Regions from separate parts of the Homo sapiens genome. Here all the other regions are linked to region 1. The links are contacts of gene promoters, found by promoter capture Hi-C in blood cells and fetal thymus (Javierre and others, 2016). All regions are on one chromosome and are shown on one strand. Each heading gives the region's core, a stretch centred on a gene start or on the middle of the fragment in contact. The rest is flanking DNA. Distances are from core to core; before and after follow the strand shown.

Region 1 (2,779 bases), core at 205-2,704:
AGTTTCCAAATCCTCATAGCACTTAATATGATACAGTATCTTATATATGAAACACTAACCATTTGCAATTTATTTGAGAGACCTGAACAAATACATAGAACATTGTCACACCCTTCCATTCCAGGAATGTGCTCTCTACCCTAATTTTGAAGGCAGTTTAGCAATTGTCACCCACCTCATCTTCACTCTCACTCAAGAGGTAGTCTTTTGGCAAATCCGCTAGTTCTTCCTGTTGGCTCAAAGCCAGAAGGCTGTTAAAAGAGGCAACAGAGAAATGTGAATGCAATATACCCATGTAACAAACCTGCATATGTATCCCTTAATTATAATAAAAGTCGAAATTAAAAAAAGAAATATTATTATTTGAAGCAATGTCTAATCTATTAAAACAATCTCGAAAACATTGTAATTTCAGCACAGAATAGCCCTATCCCTCAGAAGATATATAAAGCAGCGTGAATGCCTTTGGAAACTTGTCAAGATGTGAAATTTAGACTGAAGTCAGGCATCACCTCCAAGAGTGATGCCTGACTTCAAAACTGCATGTAAAAGAGCTATCACTTTTCAGGGATTGGCACAACATTTCCTATGACCTATGGGAAGCTGTAAAAATGTCAGACCCTAGAATAATATGGCCAAAGACGCTGTTGCTAGCTAGCCCTGGAGGCAAGGCAGTTTCACGATTAATATTTCTAAGCATCCTCCATATATTTGACTCATTGATAGGCAGCCTAATCAAAAGTGTTATCTTGATCCTTGTTCCCAGGAATGGAGAAACAGGTCGAAAGCAGCTGGGTAAGCCACTTTCCCTGGGGCTTGCTTAGTAAAGTAGGTGCTTAACTAAGGAGATTGGTACCCACAAACAAATTATAAAATGTACCATTACCTAACAGCATATATTATTAGTATTTGCAAAGCCAACATTACTAAACGGACTACATTTAGTTCCGGGGGCGGGGTGGGGGGGGCACAAAACATCACAGGAGCCAAAACGTGGTGGATGACTCCAATCAGCAAAGCTTTCCAAGATTCGGGGAGTTTATAACGCCTGCACTGCCTGCGCAGAGGATTAAATCGGGCCGCGACAGAGGCAGAAAAAGGGGCCACGTGACGAAAAATGTGAAACACAGTAAATGAGCTGGGGAGGCAGAAACAGCATCAGGACCAACAGGGATGCGGCTATACAGCTGAGGAGCGGAGTAAGCGAATGAAATTAAATTAAAAGGGCTTTAAAGGCTGGATCGCGGAAAATAGGAACGAATGGCCAGCTCTTCAGGGGAACCACTGCCATCTGTTAAAGGGGGGGCTCCCATTTCCCAAAAGCTGGGGAACCCGGCCCCCAACGAGACCCAGAATCCCCCCTCCCCTCGTTGCCCTTCACCTCTCTGCAAGCCGGTTCGCAGTCATTTCAGCAGCCAGCTTCTCTCACATGGACCAAGAACGGAAGCCGAAGGAAAGCAATTTCCGTGCGGGCCGCAAAGCAATTTCTGTTTCCGTCAATCGCTCGCGACGTACACGTCACTTCCGTTCCGTACGAGGCGTGAGAGAAGCAGGAGCCGTGTAGGGAGGGGCCTGCAGAAAACTGGGAGGCCTGAGATGAAACGGCTGTCAGCGGGTGGGGCATTCCTTTCTCCACCCACCCCGTATTTCTCTGGCGCGCGGGTGTCTGTCCTCCTGGCCCCTGGTTTCCACGTGGCCCAAGGTGGGTTAGCTTAGGGCGACGGTGCTGCGCTCTCAGGGGCTGAGCCCGCGCCTTCATTCGTCACTGCAGAATCCAGAAGGAAAGACTACAGCGCCCGTCCTTGTGCGACGGCGTCCTGCAAGCCGACCACAAGCCAGCTCGGGGGTTTATTGAATGCCTATTAAGTGGCCAGATTGTGCCGGGCCCCGGAGATCCGATGGTGAACATAACAAGTTTCCTTCCATTTAAGGAAAAATCGCCTTTGATCCCTTGTAATTGCAGCTTTGTTCTTCATTTCCTGAGTCAAAAGATTTTTTTTATCCAAGAAGGGGCCATCAGTAACTACGCTTCCTCACCTCCCATCAACTTAAAAAAATTTTTTTAAACAACTTTTTTTCTCCCATCAACTTTTAAGAATTTTATTTATTTATTTTTGAGACAGAGCCTTGCTGTGTCGTTCAGGCTGGAGTGCAATGGCGTGATCTCAGCTCACTGCAACCTCCACCTCCCGGGTTCAAGCGATTCTCCTGCCTCAGCCTCCCGAGTCGCTAGGATTACAGGCACCCGCCACCATGCTCGGCTAATATTTGCATTTTTAGTAGAGACGGGGTTTTGCCACGTTGGCCAGGCTGGTCTAGAATTCCTGGCCTCAAGTGATCTGCCCGCCTCGGCCTCCCAAAGTGCTGAGATTACAGGTGTGAGCCACCGGGCCCGGCCTAATATATATATATATTAATTAATGATTGTAGAAAAATAATAGACAAGAACATTCTTTTCATTTTTTTTTTTTGAGACGGAGTCTCACTCCGTCGCCCACGCTGGAATGCAGTGGTGCGATCTCAGCTCACTGCAAGCTCCGCCTCCCGGGTTCACACCATTCACCTGCCTCAGCTTCCTGAGTAGCTGGGACTACAGGCGCCTGCCACCACACCCGGCTAATTTTTTTTTTTTTTTTAAGTAGAGACGGGGTTTCACCGTGTTAGCCAGGATGGTCTCGATCTCGTGACCTCATGATCCACCCGTCTCGGCCTCCCAAAGTGCTAGGATTACAGGCGTGAGCCACGGCGCCCGGCCCGTTCTTTTCATTCTTGTAATCCA
Region 2 (2,779 bases), core at 200-2,699, 120 kb after region 1:
GGGCCCAAGGAGGGCAGGCTGGGCTGCTATTTATAGGCCGATGGGGCCTATTGTGGCCTTCTCTCCACCAACCCTCAGCCTGATCTGCAGACCAGGAGGCTAAGAGTCGCCCCTGAAACCCTGGGGACTGGTGAGGCTGGAAAGCAAGCAGGAGGGCAGGCATGGGGCCGGAAGTCGGCTTTGTTGGGGAAGAGTAAATTCACTGCCTGCCTGCCCTCTAATTGCAGCTCTTTCCCAAGGCCTTTTCCTGTCATTAATCTGCAGTCTGGGGGCTGGGAGGAAAGGCCTTTGGCTCCCAGACCCTTGTGCGAGGGTCCCTCTGTCTCAGTTTTAGTCCAAAGTGGGAGGAGATAATCACAAAGGACTATAGAGATGGTGCTGGGTCTTGGGCCCAGTTGGCTACTCTCAGCCCAGGGAGATGGAAAGGACAAACACATGTTCTTTGGGTGATCGAGTTTCAGGGCCCTCCAGGGTGGCATTTTGCCAAGCCTACCTCCAACCTCAGGGACAGCCCCAAGTATCTTGACCGCCTTTCAGAGAGAGGTGACCCCCATTCAGGGTTGAGTTGAAATTCTTGAGCCTGGCTGGCTTTTCTGCTGGCTTCCCTTTGGAGTGAGGACTTCCTGGGAGTCGTGCCTGACGGGGGAGGTGGTACCATACACTGTTGGCCCCCTTTTCACTTCATGGCTCAGGGGAATGTGTGGGCCTCTTGGAAAGAGCTACATTTCAAATGTATATTACATTTGAAATATACTAAATATATTGTTGAGTATATATGTATTGTATATTACATTTGAAATATATATTGAAATATATATTGTTGAGTATATATGTATTGTATTGTATATATGTATTGTATTGTATATTACATTTGAAATATACATTGAGTATACTCAACAATATATATTTCAATATATATTTCAAATGTAATATACAATACATTTGAAATGTAGGGCCACCAAAGAGTATATATACACCATATGGTTCCCCCTGTATAATTATAGTTCAAAGCCTGGCAGAACTCACCTATGCTATTGTAAGTCAGGATAGTGGTTACTGTGGGAGAAAGGGGGCATGTAGTGACAGGCAGGGGCATGAGGGAAGCTTTCTCAGAAGTTCAACTCTGGATTTGTGACCTCCGGCAAGTTATCGAACCTCTCTGAAGCCCACTTCACATCAGGGCAAGTGTTCCCATCTTGGTTCTGCCACTGATTGTGTAAACTGGGTATGTTTCTTAACTTCTCTAGGTTTCTGTTTCCTCATTAGTGGAATGAAGACAAAAGCACCGACCTCATCTGGCTGTTGTGAGGATGAAATGAGCGAGTACGCCTACAGTGCTTGGAACATTGTCTGACACGGCAGTCCCTTGTGGAATGTAGGTTTATGCTTACTCTTTCCTACACCCCACCTCCAGCCTCTTACCCTGGGCATTTCCCCACCTGGAATACTCTGCCCTTCTCTCTGTCAGCCGTAGTTTCTCACCCTTCCAATTTAAGTGGAAAACCCGCAAATGCCCATCATCTGTAGAATGGATAAATTAATTGTGGCAGAGTCACACAAAAGAATAGTACCCAGGTAGGAGACAGTACAACTGTTCCCAACAGTATGGATGAGTGTCACAAACATATGGTTGAGTAAAGGGGCTGGCCACCAAAGAGTATATATACACGATATGGTTCCCCCTGTAAGTTCAAAGCCTGGCAGAGCTCACCTGTGCTGTTGGAAGTCAGGATAGCGGTTGCCCTGGGGGAAGGGGGGGGTGTAGTAACTGGCAGGGGCATGAGGGAAGCTTCTAGACTTCTGAGAGTGTTGTTTCTTGATCTAAGTGCTGTCTACATGGGGATGTTCACATTATAGAAACTCATTCGGTGGCGCAATTATGATTTATCCACTTCTCTGTATGGATATTATACTTCTATGGAAAGATTTTTCAATTCCAGCTTAAAAGGCAGCATCCATGCAGAAACCATGCCCTGATCAATCTCTCAGAGGTCCACACTGCCCCAGCCAGCATCCTCTTCCCTTACTTCCTGAGCAAACTTGGCTTTCCCCAGTGGTCTCCTGAGCTACCCCCTCTGCTCCTTCAGGGTATCAGGCATATACTGAGCACCCTGTGAGCTCTAGGCCCTACCTCTGTGTGTGTGAGAATCCAGCAATGAGGGTCTAAACTCCTCCCGCATGCCCGTGTCCTGCCAAGCACTTCCTGTGTGCCAGCTCACTCCAGCCTCATCGCAGCCCCGCATCATATTCGCACCTCGAAGCAGAGGAGACCAAGATGCGAAATGAAGTGCCCTAGGCAGGGTGGCGCAGCTGGTCTTAGGAAGAGCAAGCCTCCAAACCCAGGTCTATGACTCTGGAAACCCAAGTATGTTGCTGTGCTCGTGCTACCTCAGAGCTCATGCTGTTGCCCCGCCCCACCAGTGTAGAAGTTAGCAGTGGATTGAGTGTAGTGGTGATGGCATGCAGGTGGTTTTTGAACAGAGCTCCTAGGAAAGCAGGTGGGAGTGCAGAGGGGGAAGGGCTCTGGCGGGGCTTTGTGGAGGAGGTATATCTGAGCTGGGCCATGCAGGGGAGGCAGGATTTCTCCAGGTGGAGCTCGGAAGGGTTTGAACAAGAATGAAAGTTAGAGACGTTGAGAGCCTGATGATGGGATGGTGGGTGGGGGAGTAGAAAAGGCTATGGAAGGCTCTTGCCCGCCAGGCCAAGGGCATGTATCCTGTGGGCAGTGAGGAGCCACTGAAAATACAAAGTGCATGCTGGCAGGGTGTGGGGGTCATAC
Region 3 (2,779 bases), core at 138-2,637, 110 kb before region 1:
CGGATCACCTGAGGTCAGGAATAAAAATATTTCGCACACTCCAACTTATGCATGAAGTTGGGAGGATGGGGAGACCGTGAGAGATGAACATTCTGGTTAACAGTTTTGAAATATTTTCCAAAGAGCTTTCCAAGGAATGAGAGGACAATAAAATACATCCAGCACCAAATGAAGCAGAACTCTCTCTCTTTGCTGGTGATGCAGAAGGCCCTTTAGGATCCTGAGAGGCCTTGGGCAGGTGGTATTGGCAACAGGAGACTATTTTCACTCTTGGCCAAGCCCTGAAAGGGGCTATTTCAAACAAACCCCTGATCTTAGTTTGCTGATCAACAGTTTCCTTCTCAGGAAGGTGGCATGTAAAAAAAAAGAAGGAACGAAGTGATTTGCACTCCCAAAAAATAGACATTTACTAAATCCTTACAGGCAGTTGCAAAGAGCTGCTTCCAGGCCCCTGATCTTGTCATTTTAATTTCTGCCCTCTGCATTTGATAGTGGGCCCACTGAACTGTTCATCTAATATAGGATAGGGCAGTGCCCACCTGTCACTGAGTCATCTGAGAGACATAAGCTTCATGAGAGGCGGGGCCACATCTATTTTGTTTGTAATGCTAACAATAACAGCAACCACTAACACTAACTGAACACCTACTATGTGCCAGATACTACTGTACACACTTATGTATATCACGTTCTTTAATCTTTTTTAAAATGACAGCTTTACTGAGATACAATTTATTAAGACATACCATGCAATTCACTTAAGTGTAAAATTCAATTGTTTTTAGTATAGTCATAGAGCTATGTAACCATCCCTACTTATCTAGCTCCAGAACTTTTTCATCACCCTGAATGGAAACCCAATACCCATTAAACAGTCACTCCCCAACTCTTCCATCCTCCCCAACCCTAGGCAACCACTAGTCTACTTTCTGTCTCCATGGATTTGCCTATTGTGGACATTTTATATCATCATCTCATTTAATCTTCACAACTCTATGAGTAGATACTATTATTGTCTTGTGTATAGATTAAGAAACTGAAGGCCATAGAGATTAAGTAGCTTGACTAATAGCACACAGCTAGGAAGAGGTGGGGCCAAAATTCAAACCCAGGCTCCGTGTCTGGCTCCAGGGAGCATACTCCTCATCAATCTATGATACCACCCTCCTGAAGAGGTATTCCCATTGCCTGGGAAGGACTGGCATACAGTAGCCATGCAACAAAAACTTGCAAAACATTCAGTGAAACAGTTCCATGGGCGGAGAGTAGAAGATGGCCAGGTGAGGTGGCTCACGCCTGTAATCCCAGCACTTTGGGAGGCTGAAGCAGGAGGATCGCTTCAGCCCAGGAGTCCGAGACCAGCTTAGCCAACATAGTGAGACCTCGTCTCTACAAAAAATAATTAGCCAGGTGTAGTGGTACACACCTGTGGTCCCAGCTACTTGGGAGGCTAAAGTGGGAGACTGCTTGAGCCCAGAAGGTGAAGGCTGCAATGAGCTGTGATCGAGCCACTGCACTCCAGCCCGGGTGACAGAGCAAGACCCTGACTCAAAAAAAAAAAAACAAAAAGAGAGTGGAAGATAATATGGTATAGCTGAAGAAGAACATGGACTTTGGAACCAGAGACCAGAGTCTGAGTTCTAGCTCTGCAAGTTAGTAGCTGTGTAACTGGGTAATGTATCCTCTCTGAGCCTCTGTTTCATTTATTTTCTCACCTGTAGATTGGTGTAGCATTCACCTCATATGGTTACTGTAACGATTAGATAACAAATGTAAAAACACAACTCTAACGACATGAATTATTATTCTTATTACCACCGAGCGCAGATGGCAATTACCTGCCAAACGTTATATGCTCTACTGCGTCATGACCCACGTTCCTACTTCACGTGTCTCTGACATACCAGGGTGGTTGTGAGGTTTGTGAGTTAAAATCCACCCAAACACCTATCCCAGGGGTTCTTAACCTGCAGTCCCTGGGTGAGCTTTGGGCGATGGGGCAGAGGTCAGGTCCATGAACCCCCTAAAATTATTGGCAAAATTCTGAGGTCACATTTCTGGGAACAGGGTCCATAGCTCTCACCAGCTTTTCAAAATGGTCTATGGTCCAAAAAAGACCATAAACTTGTGCCACAGCCAAATTCACAGTGCTCTAGCCAGAAATTTTGTCCCTTAGTGTACATGAACATCCAACTTGAAAGCTTGCTAACAGAACTTCAAGTTGTTCTAGATTTTTAATAAACCCTATCCTCAAATGTTTCAAGATTCTCCTTGGATCACCAGTAGCCTCTGGTCCCTTCTGGGGGACCAGGGGATTCTCATCAAGTGCTCCTGGCCCACCTTTTTGCCTAGAACTCTGCCACCATCCATAGCCTGTCAAGACCAACACCCAGACACCCAACCTGCCTTGCCCATCCAATCCCCAGTGGGCCAAAACCCAAAGCTGCTGCCTCAAGCATTCGAGCGGGTAGGAAACTGATTAGCACAGAAGCCAAATTGGCTCTGACCCCACAAGGCTCCCAGCAAATCCTAAGCAGGCCCCCCAACCAGTGGTGAAAGGAACAACCCCGTCAGAGGCCCCTGCTCTCCCCATCCCTAAGTTCTCAAGGCCAGTGTTCTCTCAGTAAAGGAAAAGGAAGAATGGTTATTCAAGGAAGAGCCTGTTATTCATTGATTTCCCTCACCAATACCTTCTTCCGCTTTCCGATCTCATCTGGGACAATGGCTTCCCTACCCCAGGGACAGAATCATTTCCCACATCCTACAAACTACAAGCCAG
Region 4 (2,779 bases), core at 129-2,628, 110 kb after region 1:
AATATAACATACTTGTATGAGTCTTCATTTATAGAGATTGCTTGCACAGTGATTTTATAGTCTAATTAGTATATTATATTACTATTCTTGAAATTATGTACATAAGCAGGTCATATTAACTATAAAGTTCATTTCAGGGTGGCAAAAGATGCATTCAAAATATGACATATACCAAGGGAGTGCTAGGGCTGCTAGTTTTGAGGACCACTGGACTAGATTATCTCAAGGGTCCCTTTCTAACCCTTAATATTTGGAAAGCTTGGAGAGAAAATAAACATCCTCCTCCCCTCACACCCTTAATGTGCTTTTTTAAAAATTTAAAGCTCATTTTTGAAAATTGGAGAAGTACAGAATAGTAAGATTTGAAAAAATCACCCATAACCTCATCACCAAGATGTAATAATCACCATTAATTAATGTTTTGGTGCATTTCTTGGTAGTCTTTTTTTCTGTGCACATGTTTTTTTTAAACATAACTGGAATTAGACTATAAATGTAGTTTTGTAAACCTGCTTTTTTAACTTAGTATTTTCCATATCATTAGAAATTATTTGAAAATACTTTTTTTTTTTTTTTTGGAGACAGGGTTTCACTCTGTCACCCATGCTGAAGTGCAGTGGCGTGATTTCAGCCCACTGCAACATCCGCCTCCCAGGCTCAAGCAGTCCTCCTGCCTCAGCCTCCCAAGTAGCTGGGTCTACAGGCACATGCCACCAAAGTTGGCTAATTTTTTGTATTTTTTTGTAGAGACTGGGTTTCGCCATTTTGCCAGGCTGGTCTCAAACTCCGCACTTCAAGCAATCCACTTGCCTCGGCATCCCAAAGTGTTGGGATTACAGGCATGAGCCACTACTCCGAGCCGAAAATACTTCTTTTTTTTTTTTTTTGGAGACGGAGTCTTGCTCTGTCGCCCAGGCTGGAGTGCAGTGGTGCGATCTCGGCTCACCGCAAGCTCCGCCTCCCGGGTTTATGCCATTCTCCTGCCTCAGCCTCCCGAGTAGCTGGGACTACAGGCGCCTGCCACCACGCCCGGCTAATTTTTTGTATTTTTAGTAGAGATGGGGTTTCACTGTGTTAGCCAGGATGGTCTCGATCTCCTGACCTCATGATCCACCTGCCTCGGACTCCCAAAGTGCTGGGATTACAGGCGTGAGCCACCGCGCCTGGCTCAAAAATACTTCTTAATGACTTTGTAATGTGTACATGTCAGGCATTTAAGAGTTTCTAATTTTTCATTATTACAAATAATGCTGTGATGAACTTCCTTAAATATGGGTGTGTCTGTGAGTATTTCTTTAGGATAGATTCCTAGAAGTGGAATTATTGAGTCAAAGGGAATGCTCTTTTAAAGGCTCTTGATAAATGTGGCCAAATTGCTTTATTGAAAGGCCGTCCCTGTTTGTTTTGCCAGCAGTGTATCAGAGAAGACTCTAATCAACCCATGTCATTTAAACCTTTCGAATTTTTATTTTAGCTTTTTTGAGACAGAGTCTCGCTTTGTCATCCAGGCTGGAGTGCAGTGGCACGATCTTGGCTCACTGCATTCTCTCCCTCCCGGGTTCAAGTGATTCTCCTGCCTCAGCCTCCTCATTAGCTGGGACTACAGGTGTGCGCCACCACACCTGGCTAATTTTTATATTTTTATTGGAGACGGGGTTTTGCCATGTCAGCCAGGCTGGTCTCCAACTCCTGACTTCAAGTGATCTGCCCGCCTCGGCCTCCCAAAGTGCTGGGATTACAGGCGTGAGCCACCGTGCCCGACCTAAACCTATGGTAATTTGATAGTTGTAAACTTATATCTCAGTGTTAGTTTATATTTATTTGATTAATAGTGAAGTTAAACACTTTCTGCACCTCTCCTCTGCCTTATGTTTATTACCATTTGTATTTCTTCTGTAAATTGTCTGTCCTAATCTTTTGTCTATTTTTCTTCAGGCATTAAGGGGTTTTCTGATTGATTAATAAATTAGAACTTAGAGCTCACACTTCACCACGGGCCAGGAAATGAAGGGGCCCTTGATTTAGAAGTGGCTTTACAACTTTAGAATCTAGAGTAGAATTACCTCCCTGACATTCCAAGCCCTTCACTTTCTTCACTCCCCCACTTGCCTTCTCACTGCTTTTTCTGCCAGCCCCTGCCCATCTCCAGCTGTTTAGCTGTTCCAACTTGGTTAAAAGGGTTGGGGTTTTCTGCCCAAATACGAGACATGATGATTATTCGTCATAAAACACAGATTCTGTTGAACGACATAGCTTAAAGGAACATATTGATCATGTAGTCTATGCTTCTCTCTCTCTCTCTCTTTCTCCCTCAAATTAAATACTGTAACTTAGGGTCACATAGAGAGTTACTGTCAGAGCCAAGACCAGAACCCAGATGTACTGGCTCCCAGTCTAGAGAGCTTTCTGGCATAACCGACTGGTCCTCTGTCAAGCAGGTGTAGATGGATAAAAGAGTTAGAATAACTGCAAATGACACTTGAATGAAATGAAGCTTTCATTTATTTAACATTCAATAAATACTTGTTGAAGATTGACTGCATGCTAGGGTTAACTTTAGGAGAAATTGCAGTACCAACCCTCGTAAGTTGAGAAACAGCAATGATTTTTAGGATTATTTGCCATTTGGGATGAATATTACTGATAAGCTCTCCATTTTAGGCATACAGAGGACTTATATATAGTCGGGCTGATATGAGGCTGGTTGTTGGATTTTTGTTTTCAACTTAACTCTCTTAAGTCTCTCTCCAGACCCCTGCATTTAGGTTGAACTGATGAT
Region 5 (2,779 bases), core at 90-2,589, 86 kb before region 1:
CACCACCATACCTGGCTAATTTAAAATTTTTTTCAGTACAGTCAGGGTCTCCCTATGTTGCCTAGGCTGGTCTCAAACTCCTGGCCTCAAGCAGTCCTCCTGCCTTTGCCTCCCAAAGTGCTGAGATTATAGGCGTGAGCCAGCGTGCCTGGCCTCACTTACATTTTCATACCGCCAGATTCTTTTTGCTTTCTACCCATTGCTATGATACTTTTTTCTTATTATTCAAACAGTACTCACTTCCATTTCCTGCTGTAAGAAAATTACTTTACTCCATTTAACAAAAACACCTCATCATAGCTTTATAATAAACCTCGGCTCTAGCTACAAGATTTTATACAACTTCTAGATGTCACGCAAAACTTAAGTGATCATTGTGAAATTAATCAGTCCTTTCAAAAGGCAAAGCAACCTCAAAATGTCACCCTAAATATCTAGGGTCATTTTTTGAGTACTTCTAATTTCCGCTAGAACAAAAACACAAATTGGCTTCCCTCAATCTTGGTCTTCAGCAGGACCATATAAATATTTAGTGTGTTTTTCACACTCTAAACTTGAATCATTGTAATATGAGACATTCTGAATCCCTTTTGAGATGCTTCTGGGTCCTGCCTGCCATAGACTGTGACAGTGGCCCTCTGGTGTCTCCATTTCAGTATACTATATTCATGATACGCAATTTTTCACCTAAAGACAATTCCTAGCTGGGCGCACTGGCTCACACCTGTAATCCCAACACTGAGAGGCCGAGGCAGACAGATCACTTAAGCCCAGGAGTTCCAGACCAGCCTTGGCAACATGGTGAAACCCCGTCTCTACAAAAAATACAAAAATTAGCCAGTCTCATAACCCGGTCTCTAAATATATATATATGGTTTTAAAAAAGACAATTCTTCCTCACCCAACTTTTGCTTTTATAAAAGTCTCCTGGACTACATAACACAAATATTTGGAGAGACCATTATCAGGTTATTCTTTCTATTTTCTCACAACAGAACAGACTCAGCTATGGGTTCAACTAATTTTATATATATTATTCATTCAAAGGTGTATCTATACAGCTTTCATTAAACAGTATTAGCTCAAAGAGTTTGTTGTTGTTATTTTAAGACTGGGTCTCAACTCTGTCACCTGGGCTGAAGTGCACTGGCACAATCACAGCTCACTGTAGCGGCACTCCCGGGCTCAAGTGGCCCTCCCACCTCAGCTTCCCAAGTAGCTGGGACTATAGACACATGCCACCACACCTGGCGCCACCAAGCCCAGGTAATTTTTGTATTATTTTGTAGAGACAGGGTCTCGCTACATTGCCCAGGCTGGTCTTGAACTCCTAGGCTCAAGTGATCTGCTAGCCTCGGCCTCCCAAAGTGGTGGGATTATAGGCGTGACGACTGTGCCTGGCCCAAAAATTATTTTAAAAATCAGCTGTGCCTGGTGGTATGGGCCTGTGGTCCTAGCTACTTGGGAGGATGAAGTGGGAAGATCACTTGAGCTCGGGAGGTCGAAGCTGCAGTGAGCTGAGTTTGCACCACTCTACTTCAGCGTGGGCAATAGAGCAAGACTCCATCTCAGAAACAAAAATAAAAATAAAAAGCGCCAGGCACGGTGGCTCACGCCTGTAATCCCAGCACTTTGGGAGGCCGAGGTGGATGGATCACGAGGTCAGGGGTTCGAGACCAACCTGACCAACATGGTGAAACCCCGTCTCTACTAAAAATACAAAAAAAAAAAAATTAGCTGGGCATGGTGGCGGGCGCCTGCAATCCCAGCTACTCAGGAGGCTGAGGCAGGAGAATTGCTTGAACCCGGGAGATGGAGGTTGCAGTGAGCCGAGATCGCACCACTGCACTCCAGCCTGGGCAGCAGAGCAAGACTCTGTCTCAAAAAAAAAAAAAAAAAAAAAAAAGAATATTTTCTGCCGGGCACAGTGGCTCACACCTGTAATCCCAGCACTTTGGGAAGTTAAGACAGGAGGAATGCTGGAGCTCAGGAGTTTAAGAACAGCCTGGGCAACACAGGGAGACCCTGCCTCTACTAAAAATAAAAATAAAAACAATTGTCCGGGCATGGTGGCCTGTCCCAGCTACTCAGGAGGCTGAGGCAACAGAGCCAGACCCTGTCTCAAAAATAAATAAATAGACTAGGCGCAGTGGCTCACACCTGTAATCCCAACACTTTGGGAGGCCAAGGCAGCCGGATCACTTGAGGTCAGGAGTTCGAGACCAGCCAGGCCAACATGGCAAAACCCCATCTCTACTAGAAAAAATACAAAAATCAGCCAGGCGTGGTGGTGGGTGCCTATAATCCCAGCTACTCAGAAGGCTGAGGCAGGAGAATCACTTGAAACAAGGAGAAGGAGGTTGCAGTGAGCCAAGATTGCATCACTGCACTCCAGCCTGGGCAACAAGAACGAAACTCTATCTCAAAAAATAAATAAATAATATAAATACAAAAATTAGCCAGGCATGGTGGCTCACACCTATAGTCCCAGCTACACGGGAGGCTGAGGCAGAAGAATCGCTTGAACCCAGGAGGCGGAGGTTGCAGTAAGCCGAGATCACGCCACTGCACTCTAACCTGGGCAACAGAGTGAGGCTCGGTTTCAAATAAATCAATCAATAAATAAACAAATAAATTAATTAATTAAATAAACACAACAGCCCTTTTCAGAAAGCAATGGTTTTTAAAAATGTCACCCATGGCCCGAAATGTTCCCTAGAGTTTCAACTGGATATACACTCCTCAGTTCCTGTCCTGAACTATTGAGCAGTGTTACAGC
Region 6 (2,779 bases), core at 143-2,642, 69 kb before region 1:
CAAAGGCATGAGCCTTTTTTGCAAGAAGGGTTGCTAAGGTAGATACATTCCAGCTGCCTACAGAGTACTGGATACTAAGTGCTGGCTCCCAGAGAACAAATGGCCTGGTCTCTGCCCTCTTAGAGCCCCAGGTGTGGATGGGGAGACAGCATGTCCGGTTAAACTGAACTCTGTAAACAACCAACAACTTTTTTGGATTTTATAGCCAAAGGAGTGAAAATGAGGAAAGGGGCTGAAATCAACCCAGAGGCCTCACCGGGTCAAGCCCTTCAGCTTGCTGACCACTCTCCTCTTCCCTGAGACTCCTAGGCTCTAAACAAAGTTCTTTCTTAAAAATTATTATTTTTTTTAACATTAGAGGGGGTGGTGGTGGCGTGGTCTTGCAATGTTGCCTAGGCTGGTCTGGAACTCCTGGGCTCAAGTGATCCTCCAGCCTTGGCCTTCCAAAATGCTGGGATTATAGGTGTGTGAGCCACCGCGCCCAGCCAACAAAGTTCTTAATCAAACATGCAGTGCTAGAAGTGGAAGGGATTCTAAGAAATCTGCCCTCCTGAAAAACTGGCTATGGTTGGCCACTGCCAACAAAATCAAGTCCATGAGCCTTCACCTAGCCTTTAGGGCCCTCCCTGATCTAGTTCTAGCCTCCTTTCCTTCCATGTCTCTCACAAGCCCTCTTTTCTGACCTGACTGGCCCCCTCGGCATTCCTTGGATAAGCCATCCATTTTGTCAGCTCTGCTTCCTCAGCTTTTTTTTTTTTTTAAACACTTAAAAAAATTGTACAGATGAGGCTGGGCGTGGTGGCTCACACCTGTAATCCCAGCACATTGGGAGGCCAAGGCGGGTGGATCACCTGAGGTCAGAAGTTCAAGACCAGCCTGGTCAACATGGTGAAACCCCATCTCTACTAAATATACAAATATTAGCCAGGCATGGTGGCAGGTGCCTGTAATCCCAGCTACTCAGGAGGCTGAGGCAGGAGAATCGCTTGAACTCAGGAGGTGGAGGTTGCAGTGAGCCAAGATCACGCCATTGTGCTCCAGCCTGGGCAAAGAGAGCAAAACTTTGTTCAAAAAAAAAAATTGCACAAATGAGTTCTTGAGTTCTCGTTGTGTTGCCCAGGCTGGTCTTGAACTCCTAGCCTCAAGTGATCCTTCCCTCTTCGCCTCCTAAAGTGCTGAGATTACAGGTGTGAGCCACCATAGTGGCCTCCCACAGGTTTTTTTGTTTGTTTGTTTGCTTGCTTTTTTTTGAGATGGAGTTTTGCTCTTGTCGCCCAGCCTGGAATGCAATGGCGTGATCTTGGCTCACTGCAACCTCCTTCTCCTGGGTTCAAGCGATTCTCCTGCCTCAGCCTCCCTAGTAGCTGGGATTACAGGCACGTGCCACCACACCCAGCTAATTTTTGTATTTTTAGTAGAGACAGGGTTTCACCATGTTGGCCAGGTTGGTCTCGAACTCCTGATTTCACATGATCCACCCACCTTGGCTTCTCAAAGTGCTGGGATTATAGGCGTGAGCCATCGCACCTGGCCCCTCCCACCTGCCCCCTCCCACAGCTTTTTATATGTCTTTCTCAGCTTATTGAAATCTCACTCAACCGTTACTCAAGACAGCTCTCTCATCTGGGTGTGGCGGCTCACGCCTGTAATCCCAGCACTTTGGGAGACCAAGGTGGGTGGGTCACTTGAGGTCAGGAGTTCGAGACCAGCCTGGGCAACATGGCAAAACCCCGTCTCTACTTAAAATACCAAACTTAGCCAGGTGTAATGGCACACGCCTGTAATCCCAGCTACTTGGGAGGCTGAGGCAGGAGAATTGCTTGAACCTGGGAGGCAGAGGCTGCAGTGAGCTGAGATCTTGCCACTGCACTCCAGCCTGGGCGACAGAGCAAGACTCTGTCTCAAACAACAAACAACAAACAAACAAACAAAAGACCATTCTCTCATGCCCCTTTCCCTGACACCCACACCCTCCCTATGGAAGTTGGCTGCTCCTCTGGGGCACCCCCACAGTTTTTAGCTTGTCCCTTTAGTTAGCACTTCCACACTCTGCCTGTCTATCTCTCCGACTAGATTTTAAGTTCCTTGGATAAAAGGACTCAGTATTTCTCATCTGTGTATCACAGCCTCCTTCATCTCCCCCCAAGACCTCCCACCTTGGCACATAGTAGGACTTGTTTTACAGTGGAGAAGCTGAGGCCCAGACTTGACTTCCCTTCTTGCCAAAGACTCATTTTAAAGTCTGGGTCTCTTTTAGTCTTTCTCTTCCCACTCAGTGATTAAGCACACAATCTCTGAAGTTAGACAGACATGGTTTGAATACTGGCTCCACCACTTCCTAGCGCTATTGCCTTGCATACTTTTCTCTGAGCCTCAATTCCCTCATTTGTGAAATGGGGGCTAATAAGTACCTCCTGAAAACGTTATAAGGGCCAGGCGCGGTGGCTGAAGCCCGTAATCCCAATGCTTTGTGTGGCCAAGGCGGGGGGAACAGTTGAAGTCAGGAGTTCAAGATCAGCCTGGGCAATATGGTGAAACTCATCTCTGTATATAAAAAAGAAGAAGAAGAAGCAAACGTTATAAAGATCACATGAGTTCTTGTATGTTAAGCACTTAGAACAGTGCCTGGCACCCAGTAGATGCTCCATAGTAGTTTAAAAAAATAAGGAATTTTTAAAGTTCAGAACTTGAGAGCGCCTGCTTCATTTAAGCCTAGGAATAAAACCCACAACCTGAACATAAAGAAAAAGAGATGTATTTTTGGGAAGGAGAATAGAAT

What was found. Contacts are between HindIII fragments. The CHiCAGO score rates a contact against its expected background, and 5 or more counts as called.
Region 2: a fragment that was not itself captured here is called in contact with the fragment with the promoter of UTP14A in region 1 in 1 of 17 cell types (activated CD4 T cells); the score reaches 5.3 in activated CD4 T cells.
Region 3: a fragment that was not itself captured here is called in contact with the fragment with the promoter of UTP14A in region 1 in 12 of 17 cell types (activated CD4 T cells, neutrophils, monocytes and 9 more); the score reaches 8.6 in activated CD4 T cells.
Region 4: a fragment that was not itself captured here is called in contact with the fragment with the promoter of UTP14A in region 1 in 2 of 17 cell types (activated CD4 T cells and M2 macrophages); the score reaches 6.4 in activated CD4 T cells.
Region 5: a contact is called between a fragment that was not itself captured here and the fragment with the promoter of UTP14A in region 1, in 1 of 17 cell types (activated CD4 T cells). The highest score is 6.5, in activated CD4 T cells.
Region 6: a contact is called between a fragment that was not itself captured here and the fragment with the promoter of UTP14A in region 1, in 1 of 17 cell types (activated CD4 T cells). The highest score is 6.2, in activated CD4 T cells.

Annotation. Positions count from the first base shown.
Region 1 is chrX:129,904,839-129,907,617 of GRCh38, reverse strand. UTP14A (UTP14A small subunit processome component) reads right to left here and starts at 1,454. Exons shown (of 15, transcript NM_006649.4): 1 at 1,382-1,454; 2 at 176-251. The coding sequence starts at 1,407. It overlaps LOC105373335 (a long non-coding RNA gene), which reads left to right. Exons shown (of 3, transcript NR_188631.1): 3 at 1-354. The HindIII fragment of the contact is 20,573 bases long and covers 1,022-2,779 here.
Region 2 is chrX:129,783,074-129,785,852 of GRCh38, reverse strand. All of the region lies in intron 1 of SASH3 (SAM and SH3 domain containing 3), which reads right to left. Among named protein-coding and RNA genes, the nearest start is that of SASH3, 4.5 kb to the right of the region's middle. RefSeq lists an enhancer at 360-449. The HindIII fragment of the contact is 685 bases long and covers 1,107-1,791 here.
Region 3 is chrX:130,016,431-130,019,209 of GRCh38, reverse strand. The region is part of intron 4 of BCORL1 (BCL6 corepressor like 1); the gene reads right to left. Among named protein-coding and RNA genes, the nearest start is that of BCORL1, 35 kb to the right of the region's middle. The HindIII fragment of the contact is 1,633 bases long and covers 571-2,203 here.
Region 4 is chrX:129,799,680-129,802,458 of GRCh38, reverse strand. No RefSeq gene overlaps it. Among named protein-coding and RNA genes, the nearest start is that of SASH3, 21 kb to the right of the region's middle. The HindIII fragment of the contact is 2,236 bases long and covers 261-2,496 here.
Region 5 is chrX:129,990,779-129,993,557 of GRCh38, reverse strand. The region is part of intron 1 of BCORL1 (BCL6 corepressor like 1); the gene reads right to left. Among named protein-coding and RNA genes, the nearest start is that of BCORL1, 9.5 kb to the right of the region's middle. The HindIII fragment of the contact is 3,001 bases long and covers 1-2,779 here.
Region 6 is chrX:129,973,757-129,976,535 of GRCh38, reverse strand. No RefSeq gene overlaps it. Among named protein-coding and RNA genes, the nearest start is that of BCORL1, 7.5 kb to the left of the region's middle. The HindIII fragment of the contact is 3,364 bases long and covers 1-2,779 here.